Linked DNA regions of Homo sapiens: region 1 is linked to region 2. Evidence: promoter capture Hi-C in 16 types of primary human blood cells and fetal thymus (Javierre and others, 2016). All regions are on one chromosome and are shown on one strand. The core of a region is centred on a gene start or on the middle of the fragment in contact, and the rest is flanking DNA. Distances in the headings are between cores, read along the strand shown.

Region 1 (3,003 bases), core at 58-2,557, 170 kb before region 2:
TTTTATCTTCAAGTCCTAGAAGTATCAACCAGCAAATACCGCCTGGGATAGCCTCAACTAGCAACAACAGTACTATATAACTTTCAAGATTATTTAAGTCTCCGCCTATAAAAGTTGTTCACTGTCCATGTTTTTAATTGCCCTGGCAAATCTGCGTTATCAGGCAAAACACTGGCTGCAGTCGATACTATTATTGATACTGAACTTCTAGGAGCCATCAGTGAGGGATCTCAAGCTTGTGGAACTTCCCAAGTGGGACTAAAAGTCAGGGCACTAAGCAAACGAGTGAGGCCAGCAGAAAAGTAAAACCTGCTTTAAGAAAACTTAAATATTTCTAATGAGGTTAGGGCCACAAAATACAGCTATTTTTTCAAATTCTTTACGCTTCTGCAACATCTCCTTTTTTCCCTCTCTCCTTCATTACTTTTCCCCCTTCTTTCTTCAAGCTATATTAGCAATTACCAATTTTTCTTTTTTTTTCTTGAGACAGGGTCTCACTCTGTTGCCCAGGCTGGAGTGCGGTGGCACAGTCACAGCTCACTGCAGCCTGGACCTCCTGCGGTTAAGTGATCCTCCTGCTTCAGCCACCCAAGTAGCTTGGACCACAGGCGTGCGCCACCATGCCCGGCTTATTTTTGTATAATATTTTTTGTAAAGACAGAGTTTCTCCATGTTGCCCAGGCTGCTGAACTCCTGAGCTCAAGCAATCTGCCCACCTCAACCTCCCAAAGTGCTAGGATTACAGGAGTGACCCACCACGCTCAGCCCAACTTTTCTTTAAAGAAAAGAAAGCACAAGAACTTTGGTATGTTTGTAAAAACATCTAAGCCATGTTCACATCAGTCCTTATCATAAATCATCTTTTCTCTGACCTCCCTCCAATCAAAATTACCTAGAAGACATTTTAGAAAAGGTGTTTCTTTTTATTTCAGAATTAACAAAGCAAAAGATTATGTTTAAAATCTCAATTCAAGGGTTCAGACAAATAATATAATACTATGATCCCTTTTTCTGTAAAGGAAAAGAGACAAGTCACAGGTAGGCTTAGAGCTTCAGCTCCCTGGCCTGCCTGGTGGTATTTTCCACTGCAAGGCCCAGAGAGTTAACAGGAGGTCAGGGCAAGAGACCTGTTCTTTAGCTGAGGCAGTAAATATTTACAGTTCTTCACAGAGCAAGCCATCAGCCAGAACTGGAAAAACATTTCTTTATAGTTATCTCACTTGTCACTTATAAAAATGCATTTTAGAATTCTCTTCTCTATATAAAATTAACAGTCTGGCAAAGATATGTAGTTTTAAAATATGGAAAAACACAAATTGGTGAAGACACCCCTTTTTTTATTAAAACCGGATACATTTTCAGTTTTTTCCTCACTAACTCGAACTCCACCCAAAATTGGCAAACTTTTCTCCCAGTTTTATTACTTCAGCAAGCGATCTTTTCTTAAATATTTCTACCTTGGTCTTACTATAACAGCATTAGTAACTGGGAAAAAAATACACCAAAAGAAAACCAACTGTATAAAGCACCTGGCCAAAGATAACTCAATGTTTAAGAGTCGCACATATTTACAATAACATACGGGAAAATAAGTTGGACTCATCCTAACTTTTAGGTCAAATTTCTGAACTTTAGACAAATACAACTATGTTGAAAAATCAGAGACACATTTTGAAAGTAATGAAAAATACAATACATATAAAAGATTATTTCAGAGAAGACATTTTGTAGAAAAGAGTCTCCCAAGGAAATTGATGGAGACATTGGAATAGTTACAATGAAAATTAGCAAAAAAAGAAGGGAAATTTCTGAAAGACAAACAAGAGGGAGTAAAATAAATTTTCTCCAATTTCCAAAAGCTAACAAAAAAGAATCATTTGTGTGTAGACAGATTTAGACAATAGGCAGTGCTAATCTCCAAGCATTTCTCTTTCAGCTTAAGGAATACTGACTTCACTCGAAGGAGGAATACAGTGCGGTGATTAATGAACACAGGCTGGCCGGGTGCGGTGGCTCAGGCCTGCAATACCAGCACTTTGGGAGTCCGAGACAGGCAGATTGCTTGAGCCCACTAGTTTGAGAGCAGCCTGGGCAACATGGCAAAATCCCATCTCTACTACAAAACCCCATCTCTACTTTAAAAAGAGCACTGGCTCTGGAGCCGGACTGCCTGGGCCTTTCTGGCTGTGCCACTTACGGGCTGTGGCACTTCAGGTGAGCAACTTAATTAACTTCTCTGTGACTCTACTTCCTTACCTGAGAAATGAAGATAATATGATAAAGGCCACCTTGCAGAGTTGTTGTGAGGATAAAATAACTTATTTAAAGTGTTTAGACAGGGCCTGGCATAAAGTAAATGCTATGGCACACTAGCTTCAGCGAAGCTTCCATTGTGAAGTGCATACCATATTGCAGATCCAAATTCTGCCTATATTCCAGTGCAAGAAGGTAACTCTGAGAGGCAGTTCAAGTTTCAGTCACATTGTTGCATGTCTCTCCTCTGCCTGTCAGCAAGTTCCACCCAACTAATCTGCTTCCCATATATCCTTCCCACGTTCATCTTCAGGGGCTCCCTGCCATGTGCAGCAGACAGCCAGAGTTCCCAATGATGGTGCACACCAAGCTTTCCAATGTGAATTCCCACCAACACCCCCAAAACACTTGGAACGGGCTGACCTAGCCACCGACCCCTAAATGACATCATGGCCACTCCATTTCCAAATTCCTTCTAACTGTATCATCACCAAAGTCTTTTAATCAATTGAGACCGGACGCGGTGGCTCACGCCTGTAATGCCAGCACTTTGGGAGGCCGAGGCGGGTGGATCACCAGGTCAGGAGTTCAAGACCAGCCTAACCAACATGGTGAAATCCCATCTCTACTAAAAACACAGAAATTAGCCGGGCGTGGTGGCAGGTGCCTGTAATCCCAGCTACTCGGGAGGCTGGGGCAGGAGAATCACTTGAACCCGGGAGGTGGAGGTTGCAGTGAGCCAAGATCGCG
Region 2 (3,089 bases), core at 197-2,696:
CTGAACTAAATACTGTTAGTATCACGTCTGCCTCCTTCTCCTTATGTCTCCACGAACCAGTTCCTCTGCTGACTTCCTTATTTCTGGGGCCCACATCTCATTCTCCAGTTTGTATTATACAGAGCCTTTTTCCCACAGTGCCTGCCATGGGATCCCCCAGTCCTCCATTCTACCTGAAAAACTCGCAAGCCTCCCGTGAGAGCCATCTGTGGTGCCCTTGGTTCCTCTGTGAGGCTGCCACCACCCTGCACCCTAGGGTGAGTAGTGCCCCAGAAGGACCTCACAAACTCCAGTGAAGGGACTCACAGGCACAGTCTCAACTGTGTCCCTGAGGTCCCCAGCCAGGTTTCTCTACCCTGCAGCCCACGTGGGGTAGAGGGACCATCTAGGCAGCTGTGAAGCTACCTGGGTGGGTGGTGGGGGGAGGCAAGCAGGAGCCCCAGTAAGGAGTCAGGGCCCCTTGGCAGCTGCGGTCAACTTTGAGGTTTGCAGCCTCCTGCTCCTGTCTTAAAGGGATGAGGACAGCTCCTCTGAATGAGGGGGCATGGACCTTGAGGGGCACCTGGGGAGTGAGAGGACAGAGGGAAGAGGACTAGACAGAGGAGGGGGACAGGCAGACCTGCTCCCTCCAGGCTGGGCTGGCCCTACCGGGCTGGGTGGGGTACCCCCTCCAGCTTATAGGGTCTCCCACACCATCAGCCCCGCTATGGGGCCTGGACGGAAGGGCTGGGGCAATGGCCTGGGGAGGGGGCTCGGGAAACAAGGCTGTAGAACAGGGAAAGCTCCAGCAAAGGGAAGCCCTCTATGCTGTACGTTTCCTGGAAAGGACGATCCCGGGGGGCAGCTGCTGCTGTCAACCCGGTAAAGCTCACAAGCCCCCACACCAGATCCCCCCAGATCCTCTCACGGCTCAGCTCCAGGGACCGGCAGAGACTCTCCCCGGACGGGTCTCGCCTCCCTAAGGGTCTCTGCTTCGCCTGTGAGAGGAGGGGTTGATGTCCTGACTCTAAGGTGTCTCGGCTCTCTGCGTCCTCAGGAGCACGCGCTGCTGGGGGCGCGGGCGGCAGAGGGTGGGCCCTGGAGTCCGAGCCCCCGGGACTCGCGGGCACGCGGTGGGTAGCGGGGGACAGAGAGGGAACAGCAGCCCGGCGTCCGCTCCAAGTCTGCCCCTCGAGCAGTGGGGCTGGGGCCCCGATCCCTTCACGCGCGAGCTCCGCCAAGCCCCCGGGCGCGCGGTCACCGAGTGGCGCCGGAGCTGGGGAGCCCCCCACGCCCGCCGCGTTGGCCTCCCGCCCGGGCCGGGTCCTGAGCCCCGCGATCCGCTGTCGGCCCCACGACTTACCCAAAAGTTTCCCTTGAACAGTGAGCGCGTCATCGCAGCGCGAGTGGGGGCGCGGAGGAGAGCCGGGCCGCAGGTAGCACAGAGCGGGGAGGCCTGACTGCCACTGCCCGCGGCTCCGCAGACTCAACTTCTGCGTTCCACACTCGCGCAGGGAAGCCGCCCCCGGGTCCTAAACCACTCCCGATTGCGACGGCCGCCGTCGGCGCTCTGCGCTCCCTGCGCGAGACCTGGGCGGGACCCTCGGCGCTCACCCGGCCAGGGGCTGCAGCCCGCACCCGGACCCAGGCCCATTTAAAGCCCCACAGCGTCGGGCCACGATCAATATATCAGCCCGAAGCTAGCTGCCTCCTTCTGGAAGTCTTTGGGTATTGGAAATAACTGGTCCTGGCTTGGGTTCCTGCCCACAAGGCCCCCTGGACAGCACGAAATCCAGGCTCTGCGGGGTGATAGACGGGATCTGATCAGATGGTCGCGAGGACCCGGTTTAAGCTACAGAAGGCCTGGGGCCGACAACTCCCGCAGACGCCTTGGCTTCACGGCGGGCCCCACCGGCACCTGCTGCAGATCAGGCCCTGGGGGACGGTTCATTTTTTATTTTACTTTTTGTTGTTGCAGGTGTTTTTAATGAATGGGGTCACGTTTTAGTCTAAAATGTCATGGAGAGGTCATCTCTGCTGTTTCCCCTTGACTCTAGTCACTTGGTGGTGTCCTAACAGGGCTTCCAGGAGCTCAGCCGCTCTCTGACTCCCTTTCCATTCTCAAAAGGCAAGACCCTTCCCTGCCCATTCCACCCCAGCAAGAGGGGCCCAAGATTCCTTCTTCTCCCTCCACTCTTCCACCCTCACAAATAAAACCCCAGGGCAGGTCAGACCCCTCTCTGCATTGTAGTAGATTGGTACAAAAGTAATTGCGGTTTTTGCCATGACTTTTAATAGTAATGCAGGGCTTATGACAAAGTACTGCCTGGTGCGACAGGCCCGAAGCCCAACCTGAGGCCCAGAGGGGTTGAATGGCTTGCCCAAGATCACAGTTTATTTAAGGGATGAAGAGCTCAAGGTTAGAGCTCTGCCCTTCTAAATAGATGCAAAGACAGACATCCTTCCTGGGGCAGATCCATCCTGGGCAGAGGAATAGGTGCTCAAAGTGGGGAGGATAAAGGTCAAGGTTGCCAAGACTGGCACCAGCCCAGCCTGGAGAAGCAAGCACTCACCCCTGGAGCAGGTTCTAGCTACACCCAGACACAGTGAAAGGGCAATTGCTAGAATTATGTGAAGCACCTGGAACAAGTTCTGCTCCATAAAACTGCAGCCAGCCCCACTCAGATGAACTCCCACCAATAAAGTCATCCACAACTGCAAAGATGGAGAGGTGGCCTCCAGCCACCAAGCATCTCCAAGGGATGCATCCATTTACGTACTTGCTCATATCCTTTGAAAGCAGTGAGATTAGAAGGAAGGCAGAGAAGCCTGGCAGAACCATCAAGGGGCAGCAGAGGACGTGGTAGGCACTAGGAAGCTAGGCTTAACTGCAGGGGGTAAGAAATGGCACAAACTGGGGACATAGAAGCGGGAGAGCTGAAGACACCACTAAGGTTTTTCCTGGAAGTTTTAAATATTCTGGAAAAATAGTTTAGATACAATTCTAATTGTCACATTTTAATTTTTAATACATGTATAATTTTAAGTTATTAGAACGTTTCACAAGCTCTCACAGTACATTGTGCTTGATTTTCGCGACTCAGACTCTA

Evidence for each region. The method cuts DNA at HindIII sites, captures the fragments that hold promoters and counts their contacts. A CHiCAGO score of 5 or more calls a contact.
Region 1: a contact is called between a fragment that was not itself captured here and the fragment with the promoter of PSTPIP2 in region 2, in 1 of 17 cell types (non-activated CD4 T cells). The highest score is 5.4, in non-activated CD4 T cells.

What each region holds. Positions count from the first base shown.
Region 1 is chr18:45,896,080-45,899,082 of GRCh38, forward strand. All of the region lies in intron 27 of EPG5 (ectopic P-granules 5 autophagy tethering factor), which reads right to left. Among named protein-coding and RNA genes, the nearest start is that of EPG5, 70 kb to the right of the region's middle. RefSeq lists enhancers at 985-1,279, 2,112-3,003. The HindIII fragment of the contact is 2,149 bases long and covers 234-2,382 here.
Region 2 is chr18:46,070,814-46,073,902 of GRCh38, forward strand. It overlaps PSTPIP2 (proline-serine-threonine phosphatase interacting protein 2), which reads right to left and starts at 1,447. Exons shown (of 15, transcript NM_024430.4): 1 at 1,343-1,447. The coding sequence starts at 1,375. RefSeq lists enhancers at 1-32, 73-132, 1,352-1,853 and silencers at 983-1,362, 1,403-1,452, 1,583-1,742. The HindIII fragment of the contact is 16,135 bases long and covers 1-3,089 here.